Regions from separate parts of the Homo sapiens genome. Here all the other regions are linked to region 1. Evidence: promoter capture Hi-C in 16 types of primary human blood cells and fetal thymus (Javierre and others, 2016). All regions are on one chromosome and are shown on one strand. Each heading gives the region's core, a stretch centred on a gene start or on the middle of the fragment in contact. The rest is flanking DNA. Distances are from core to core; before and after follow the strand shown.

What was found. Contacts are between HindIII fragments. The CHiCAGO score rates a contact against its expected background, and 5 or more counts as called.
Region 2: a fragment that was not itself captured here is called in contact with the fragment with the promoter of ADAMTS9-AS1 in region 1 in 1 of 17 cell types (endothelial precursors); the score reaches 5.4 in endothelial precursors.
Region 3: a fragment that was not itself captured here is called in contact with the fragment with the promoter of ADAMTS9-AS1 in region 1 in 1 of 17 cell types (endothelial precursors); the score reaches 5.5 in endothelial precursors.

Annotation. Positions count from the first base shown.
Region 1 is chr3:64,559,468-64,562,736 of GRCh38, forward strand. ADAMTS9-AS1 (ADAMTS9 antisense RNA 1) reads left to right here and starts at 1,879. Exons shown (of 2, transcript NR_110151.1): 1 at 1,879-2,301. ADAMTS9 (ADAM metallopeptidase with thrombospondin type 1 motif 9) reads right to left here. Exons shown (of 40, transcript NM_182920.2): 30 at 2,111-2,284. The HindIII fragment of the contact is 2,192 bases long and covers 1,042-3,233 here.
Region 2 is chr3:65,175,513-65,178,970 of GRCh38, forward strand. The region is part of intron 1 of LINC02040 (long intergenic non-protein coding RNA 2040); the gene reads left to right. It overlaps LOC105377127 (a long non-coding RNA gene), which reads right to left. Exons shown (of 4, transcript XR_001740736.1): 1 at 3,219-3,458. Among named protein-coding and RNA genes, the nearest start is that of LINC02040, 2.3 kb to the left of the region's middle. The HindIII fragment of the contact is 906 bases long and covers 1,391-2,296 here.
Region 3 is chr3:65,250,202-65,253,283 of GRCh38, forward strand. No RefSeq gene overlaps it. Among named protein-coding and RNA genes, the nearest start is that of LINC02040, 77 kb to the left of the region's middle. The HindIII fragment of the contact is 3,358 bases long and covers 1-3,082 here.

The sequences.
Region 1 (3,269 bases), core at 629-3,128:
GTGTTCCCAGGAGGGTGACTATTAGACTCTGCTTTTCCTGTTACTCACAGAGTCTTTTCTCTTTGTGAGAATGGCAACCCTCTAGTAAGCTTCTTAAATAGAGGCCCAGGCCAGGTTATCTCCTGAAGCCGTCTATTCTTCCACAGAGTTTAACAGGAATATTTGAGTAAGGTTTAAAAAAGATCCATCTGCACGACACATGCAAAGAAGTAAATTTTAGGCATATTGTGCATGATCAGAGAAGAGGAATTTCCTCAGTGCATATGTGGCAAGGTTTTTCCATTCTTCGGGATGCAAAAGGAATTGTAAACAGAGTGTGCATTTTCGTGATTGGCTCTAGCATTTTCAAAAGCTGGCTAAAGCACAAGCAGTCAGCTTAGATTCATTTCTGAACACTCTCTTACTTTCCGCTCCTCGGAGCAGGGTTGAGTTTAGCGTGACACAAAGAGGGAGATGGAGAGAGCAGGCCATGGTAGGTCTGAAAAAAAGAGAATCAAGAGGTCACACTGAGGGGGAGAGCGAGAGAGATGAGGGAGTCTCCTCTTCCTTCTATATCTGACGTTGCCAATCCCCAAACCATAATAGATAACACTATTACCTCCAGTTTTCTCAGAACAACTCTGAAAAGTTATTTTATCCCCATTCTACAAATGGATAATCCAAGGCTCAGAGAAATCAAGAATCCTTGTTCTAATTCCCTTGGCTAATGTGTGGCAGTGCTAGGATATGAACCAAGTCTGTAGAATTTTATAGTCTCTAGGGTTCCAAATAACTGGTGTGGCTCAAGAGCTGTTAATCTGAAATGTAACTGCTTTAGGCATTCCTCCCTGCCACTGTCTGGTGGGAATAAAAAAGTAAAGAAGGAAAACAGGAAAAAGACTGAGTAGATGGAGAGGGTGAGTTTCCTAAAGAAAAGAAATTACTGCAACCAATGGAAGTAATCCATGAGGAGGCGAGGGAAGAGGAAGACAGGGCTGGGCGGCTGAATCCCAATGGGGTAAAGAATGCAGTTCTAGTATTTCTTAATGGTTTAAGAGAACAAGCTTAGCATGAAGTCTTGCTTCTTCCACTTGCTAGGTGCTAGGTATGTGACACTTGGACAAATGACACAGATTCTGTGAACCTCAGTTTTTTCACCTGCAAAATGGGATGATGATAATAATAATAATGCTCACCTTGTCTGGTGGTTAAAAAGATTAAGGGAAGCAATGAACAAAAAGTACCCAGCACAGTGCCAGGGGTACAGTCTAACTGTTCTCCAAACCATACCCTTTCTTTATGTTCTGAAAAACTCTTCATGGTGGGGAATTTCCTGCCTTATTTTTCATTATCTCTGCACCTCAAGCAGCATGCATTTTGTTTTTTATGCCAACATCAGTGGATATTGTTTTGCTTTCTAATTCTTTCCCCCCCTTTTCTACAGTTTAATCTTCTGTTCTGGAAACAGAGGTTACCTCCTATAAAACCTCCCTGGCCAAACTTTTCCCCATGGACACAATGTTTTCCTTAACCAAACATTAACTTGAAGCCAGGGAAAAAGCAAGGCCTGTCCACTTCTGCACGGACCATCAACGGAGCAGTTTCTTCAGATACCATCCTTTTTTTTTTTTTTTAAATGTTAGAAATCTTTCACTAATTAATCAAGGTTTCACATGAATGCCTATCTTCTACCTGACAGCCAAAGTCATAGAAAGAGGAAAAATACAGAGTAGGTTCTACCTAAAGTCTGCCCTGCGGCTATTTAAACAGATACAGAATGACCAAATCTGGAGACACGTATTTAAAATATTCCTTCTATCTCCCCCTCCTTCTGTGAAAGATATCTGAATGCATTCGGCCCACAGCCTGTTAAAGTTTTTTTTTTTTTTTTTGAGGCGGCCAGACTTGGAACACTCAGGAATACAGACAGACGTAGGAATTGCTTAAAAACAAGAAGTTCTCCCACCCTTGTTGGAGCGAATGCGCGAGTCTGACAGTGAACCTTTTGGGAAAGAGCCAGCATTGTAACCGTGCTCGGTGACTTCTCTGGCTTTATAGGGAACAGATGTGAGGATAGCAAGGGGCGCACACGTGAAATGCCTGGCAGGTACCCCTTTGTGGCTCTACTTACTTCTTGCCATTCCTCTGCCCTCCAAGTGTAGAGGGGACACCGTGGGCCTTGGCAGTCGCGTTCCGACTCCGGTCTGGTGTATGGGTTGCACTCGGTCTCTCTGGCTATTTTGTGTGTTCCGATCTGACAGCCCACATGCCTCTGCTGTACGCCTCGGCCACAGGACACAGAGCACTAAGAAGACAGAGAACGTAAGTGGGAGCTTCGGCTCATTTATTTTTTGGGGGGGCGGGGGGTGTCGAGGGTCACAGAGGAGGGGAATGCACTCCTAATCCAATGACTTTCATAGCTATCACATCGCTTTCTAATTTGCAATGAAAGGGATCCTAGATCATGTCTTAAACCTGGAAACTCACTGCTTATCTTATCCACGCTGGAGAGTGAGGAAGGTGCTCAAGTTTGGAGGAATCCCTCAAGTTAATGTAATTCTTAGAGGATTGAAGAGGTTAATAAAAATCATTATGAATCATTTAGCACAACCTGGAAATAGTGCTGCCATGAGAAATGAAAACTTGAAATGATTTCTATCCTGGAGGATTTGAGACTCATGAAAACTGGAGAGACAGTGTTGTACAAGAAGAATTTCTTGGCAGATTAAAAATATAACCCAAGGAGAAGTAAACCACTGAAGATTTTAGGACTTTATAAGTAGAATTATTTTCTCCAGTCTCTTCCTTTTCTTGCTCCTATTCATGGAGATAAGGCGATATTTTTTTAACCACAGAATTCACTAAAGAATTTGTGTCTATTTACAACCTCAGATGAATATATGAAGAATAAAAGCTGACAGGAAAAACCATTTCCTCGGGCTTAATGTTTTCAGCCCTTGAAAAATATTGTTAATCATGTTGAAACATTTTGCTGACCAACTTGCAAAACACCATATTAAATCTGCAATTAACTTTCCTCTAAATTAATTTTTTAATGGTTTCCTCATTGCTGGGTTTCATAATCTCACTTATGGCCAGGCCAAGAATTATTGTCTTGATTAAGGTTTTGACAGCCAGAAACTAAAGGCAACATTTGGAAAGAATGGTATATTATTACACTTAGCTATTAAAAATTATTTCCAAATTTTTGTGATAGCTCAGCCTCCATTTTTTGGTCTGGTGTTGAGAAAATAAGCTTAACATACATTAAAGCCATATTCCTAAGAGGA
Region 2 (3,458 bases), core at 594-3,093, 620 kb after region 1:
CCCTTAAATAGTTCTATTTATTTTCTCCTACCATTTACTCTTTGACCTTTCTAGAGTAATGAGCTAGAATTTCCAGACCTCACCACTTACAGTGATTGTAATAATAAAAACCAAGAAGTTGGTGATCAAGCCAGCGACCTATTAGGTGGAGCAGGAGAAATGGTGGGCCAGGCAGGCAAAGTCAGGTTTTTCATAGCAGGTGAGGGAGGGAGGGGTCTGTGCATACTCACATGCTGATGTATTTTCCCTGCAATCTCCCTATTCACTTAAAGTTCAGAGAGTTGGCAAAAGCCACTTATTTCACAAACTCATTCACAACAAGGCAGGGTTACCAAAGCACAGATGCTACACAGTGAAATAGCTTTGTAGTCAAATAAATCTGGGAAAGGCTTCCCATCATATCCCTCGATTTGAGGTTTATAGTGTACCTGAAAGACTGACAATTTTTACAGTGAAGGCAGATGTTTCTCTTGTTTTACCTGTCATTCCAAAAACACACTTGTGAATAGAACTCTTCACAATAACACCCATTAAAAGTCTTAGGAATATACTTCAAGAATTGTACCACCAAGAGATTTGTGGCTACTAATACCATCTCCGGGAGAATTTTTGCTTTTTTCAGAAGGCTGGCTCAAACGTCAGAACTCTACTGATGGAGATGTTGGGCAAGCAGCCAGCCTGTGGTAGGTACTGGGAAAGAGAACCTTTTGATATCTCGTCTTCTGCGGCCTCTATTTGGTTTGGACTTGCTCTCCATACACCACTGCTGAGTTTCTGAGCACTATACATTGGAGAATAATCATTTTGGTTCCACTGAAAGGCCTCTCTTTTCATCAAACTAGTGTAGCCCTTTTACATCTCTCATTGCTCCAGGGAGCTATGAGCAGTTTTCCTACCAAAGGCACCAGGTGCTGTCTGTGTTTCTGGGACCTTCTCCAGTGCCTGTCTCTGTTGGTCCCCTTGAATGTGCTGCCTCCATTTTGCTACTTGTAATTGAGAACCATGGGCTTCAGGCTGGGTTTCCATCTCCCTGCCTTGCCCCATTAGACTTGATGTTATATTCCGGAGTTTCAGTCCCAACCCAAAACCTACTCTCATATGCCTAAACTACAGGTCAACCTCACCCTATTAAATTCAGCTCAGGGTTGAGCTTTTAACCCACCACTTGCCTGCAAGAGAAAAATAGAAGTTCCTTTCCTTCTATTTACATTATTTCTGAAATTTCTGAAATAGAAGGAAATAATTTACATTATAAATAATTACATTAGATTATTTCTGAAATCTACATTTCAGAAAATTTTAGCTCTTTGGTCAAACTTGGTGCTTTCTACTTGCATTACTGTTATGTGTATGAATGACCTAAGTCCCTGCCCCACTGCCACACATCTCAAGCTTCTTCAAGACAAAACAAAAATCTATATCTGTTTTTCTCCTTATCTCCCTAATACCTGGGTAACGTCTTTTGCAGGTAGTAAGCACTTAACAAATGCCTATTAACTGAATCAATAAGAGAATATATAATCTTATATAGCATGTGGATGCTTTGGAGGACTAACAGAAAAGACAAAATATTTATAAATTTAACATATTAAATCCTGTTAATTTCGAATTTCCTAAGCCAAAAGTGTATTAGTCCGTTCTCACACTGCTATAAAGAACTGCCCGAGACTGAGTAATTTATAAAGAAAAGAAGTTTAACTGACTCACAGTCCCACATGGCTGAGGAAGCCCCAAGAAACACAATCATGATGGAAGGGGAAGCAAGGACCTTCTTCACATGGTGGCAGGAGAGAGAAGAGCCTGTGAGAGCTTCTCAGGAAAAACTACCATTTATAAAACCATCAGATCTCGTGAGAATCTACCCACTATCACGAGAACAGCATGAAAGCAACAGCCCCCATAATCCAATAACTTCCCACCAAGTCTCTTCCTCAACACCTGGAGATTACAAATTCAGGATAAGATTTCAGTGGGGGCACAAAGCCAAACCATATCAAAAAGCTATGTTGATTCCCATAGCATGGTGATTTTCCCTTCTTCCCCCTACCTTTGAGTATGTCTGGCATTGTCTGGAAATATATTTATTTATCAAAACTGGGGTTGGGGTGGGGAAGAACAGAGCTACTGGCATCCAGAGGGTTGAAGCCAGAAATGGTGCTAAACAACTTACAGTGCACAGGACAGAACCCCTGCCTCCAACAAAGAATTATATGTCCCCAAAGTCAATAGTGACACTACTAAGAAACCCCGCCACAAAGTCAAGAAAAAGCCCGCCTTTCCACTGCCCAATAACAAAAGCTTGCTAAAGAAATGAATAACCTAAAAAGATTGCAAGATAGAATTCAAGTTTTTTCAAATGCTTCAAGTCACCTGGTTTGCTTTCATCAAAGAATGGTCTTTATGATTATCATTATTCCACTGTAATCACCCAGAATGCTTTGCTTATGTTCTGTGCTGGACCAATTGGTAAATTGAATTGCTTAAATGCATTCCCTTCTTAGTGGTGCTTTTGTCTGTATTACAGGGCAGGAAGCAAATTTAATTCCGTAGTCATAGGACAAATATTTACCACAAACAATAGCATTTCAACAGTTTGAATCCTTAACTGCCAGAGTGGCTGCTATAAAAGGGATTGTAAGCACAAACACTCAGCTAGTATTTAAAGACCCAGTTGCTCATAAGCCAGACAGCACATGCACAAATTACCATTTGCTTCACTTGACAACTGCTGTTATCTTGACACATCCACTTAAAAATTATTTCTGACAAGAATCTTAACAGCTTTAAATCAGTCTAATTAAAGGTAATACATTTTTGCTAGAAAAGCATTTGAAATTATACAGTATTGCACAGTTCACTTTTCTAATCAAGTTACTGAGTGCATTAGTAAATGACAAAAACATCTCCACTGACATATGGTCTTCTATCGAAGGAAAACATTTCTAATACTTTATGGAAGTTTCTAACAGCAAGGCTGTAGGAGGCAAAAAATGCTTAGAGAGCTTTTCCGTAGTGAAGTAGCACCATGTCCTCGAATATTACTTTATGTAGATGTGGTCGGCAGCTCTGACAGGGCTCCTAGCGACCTCTGCCTCCTGGTACGCAGGCACCTGTGGAATCCCCTTCCTTTGTGCACAGAACCTACTGACTCAGTTTTAACAAACGGAACATAGCACAGGTGATGAGATGTCATTTCCATGATGTGGTTGCAGTCTTACCTGCATCTCGCTGGCTTTCTGTCTCTGTTGCTGGCAGTCTCTCTTACCCTCTTGCTTGCTTGCTGCCATGTTGTGAGTTGCCCGATGGAGATGCCCACGTGGCAAGAAACCAAGGGTGGTTTACAGCTTATGAGGAGCTGAAACTCACTCCAACAACCCACAAGGATTGGAAGCCTGCCAACAAACACATGAGTGTTCTTAGAAGCGAATCCTCCCCAGGCAAGCCTTGAGATGACTATA
Region 3 (3,082 bases), core at 275-2,774, 690 kb after region 1:
TATAGTGTGAGGTGGGATAAGGTAAGATAGGTGATGGATAAAATGAATCAAGGGTAGATCAGTATTTCCATCCAGATACATATAGAAGTTTTACATTGAATAAAATTCTTAGGAGTTGTTTAAAATAAGTTTTGCTAAATGCACCAACAGATGTCAAGGTCAAAGCAGGGCTCTTCCTCCCAAGAAGAGTGCTGCACCCTCAGTTTTATCTTCCACACTGTCAGAGAAGTGACAATATAATCTCTCTTAAAAAGGCATTTGAGACTACCTTCTTCCAAAGTCCCATGCATGCACTTTTATTCACCTTTCTGTCATCCACAAAGTGCATCTCAGTTTCTGCCACCATAGCTGCTGTGTTACAGACTAAAATTTCAGGAGAAAGAATAGCTAGAATTTATTAGGCATTTTCTGCCATCTAGGGACTCTACCAATCACTTTTACGTTAAATATCTCTTACAAGCTGCACAATGACCCTAATGTATATTGCCAATGGGAAACTGAGTCTAAAGAGGTTAAGACAGCTACTTCAGATCAAGGAGCTAGGAAAGAGGACGAAACTTGAGACCCAGGACTGTCTCACCCCAGAGGCAATGCTCTGAACCTCTGTGTCACTTCCCAGGGAATATGCTCTGGTCACCCATGGGCACAGCATTCAAAGCCTTTGGGACATTCACTGGGTAGACTTTCAGACTGTCACCTTTTCACTGGATGACTATGGGTCATTTTCATCATGGAAAACTTTGTGACTGAGAAATCTTTGCATCACTTCCTAGGAAGTAAATCACACTTCACCTAGCCCAGTTCCCATCCATACTTCTAGGATCTCACTCTCCCAGACGGTCTTCTATTTCTTGACTTCCATGTCTTCTTTTGTCAACACAAAGGGAAGAAGTCAAAATCAGCATGTGTTTTGTGGTTAGCAAATGGTACATTAATTAAACTAACCAAAGAATTCACCCAGCCCCAAGGTTTTGTTCTCAGTGTTACTTACAATTTCTGGAAGAATGATGCTATCAGGTTAAAATCCACACAGTCTGTGGCTGCCATCTTGTTACCCAGGTGGTTGCTGAGGCCCTGTCTGCAACCACCTGTGATGTGTGCAACCTGTCTGCAACCTGCAATGTAGATTAACTTGGCTAAAACCCAACTACACTGCCCTCCCAATGGCTTCTACCACTTCCCTAGATCTCCTCTATCCCTAGCTCCTGCATTTGTTCCTTTTCCCTCCTTGTCAACCTAGATAAGAAATTCAGCCCCTTGCCAGTTTGTACAAAAGCAGTCTGAGAAAGAGGAAGAATGTATTGAAGGACACGGAACTGAGAGAGCAGTCACCTCAGATCTCCTGCCACATCACCCGTCTTTCTCCTCACAGTCCTCCTCACTCAGTGCCCAGAGAAACCAACTTAGTTCCTCCTGAGTACATACAGTAACTACACCAGACCCTGCTGCATGGATACCAGACAACACTTCCCTCTTGCATCCTAACAGAACCCTGAAATTTTTTAGAGATTCACATGTACAAACAACTGTGTGCTCCAGAGGACATTGCCCCTTACCAGCCTCAGGGACAGGTTTGACTTGTCAAACAGCAATCCCATTTCCCTTTCAGGGATTGCTACAGAAAAAAGCATGTGATCCAAATCCGGCCAATGAAACATAAGGGAAGATTTGCTGGGGGCTTCTGGGAAAAGTTTCCTCATTCATGGGAGACACACAAATAAGAAATTATTTCTTTTCTTCTCTCAGCTGTGGTAGTTGGATAGGGCACCTGGAACTGCTGCAGCCATCTTGCTACCAGAAGAGAAGGAGTGACTTTGAAAATGACAGAGCAGAAAAGGAGAAAAAGCTCAGGAGATAGAGACAATGAATTCACCAAACCCATTTTATTTTTCTCCTGAGCACAGAATAAACTACAGTTAACAGCCACCCTGCCCCCTCCCCTGAAGTCAGGCATTACCAGAAAATTGAGTCCTGACCAATGGATTGTGTATGAAAGTAATGTTTACAGCTTCTAGGCCTGGCCTTTAAAATGGCCTGGTTCATCCTCCCTATCCTTGCTCTTTCCCCATCTGCAGGCTGAATGATGATAGGGTGATTGTGAAGCCATATTGAAGATGACAGAGCTATCACATAGAAGAAGCCAAAGTTCTTGAATGTAGTAGAGGCCTCTATTTCCATTAAATGATTACATGAATGACTAGTGTCTTTTTGTGTGTTAAACCACTGAGATCTCAGGACTAATTTGTTGTTATAGCACATATCATTACTCAACCTGATTAATACAACCACATTCCTTGACTCCTGAATCAACAAACTCTGAAGTCTTTCAACCACTAACCTTCCTCTTATGAGATAATACTTTACTTAATCCTTAAGCTCATTTGGGGCATTGTTTTCCTTTTTTCAGCCTAAAACATCTTAACAGTAATTCACATCTCTACAGTTCTGACCTTCATACTTGTATAACAAACCCATCAGGACGTTCATAGAACCAAGGCCAGGATCCACTCTGTTAAAGAAGATAATCAATGAATGTAAGAATTTTTTTTAACACTCTCCAGGGGTGGTCTAGTTTCTTTTTCTTTTTTTTCAATTATACTTTAAGTTCTGCGTTGCATGTGCAGAACATGCAGTTTTGTTACAAAGGTATACAAGCGCCATGGTGGTTTGCGGCACCCAACAACCCTTCACCTACATTAGGTATTTCTCTTAATGCTATCCCTCCCCTAGCCCCCCACCCCCCGAAAGGGCTGGTGTGTGATGTTCCCCTCCCTGTGGCCATGTGTTCTCATTGTTCAACTCCCACTTATGAGTGAAAACACGCAGTGCTTGGTTTTCTGTTCTTGTGATAGTTGGCTGAGAATGATGGCTTCTAGCTTCATCCATGACCCTGCAAAGGATATGAACCCATCCTTTTTTATGGCTGCATAGTATTCCATGGTGTATATGTGTCACATTTTCTTTATCCAGTCTATCATTGATGTGCATTTGGGTTGGTTCCAAGTCTTTGCTATTGTGAATAGTGCCACAATAAACATACGTGTGCCTGTGTCTTTATAGTGGAATGATTTATAATCCTTTG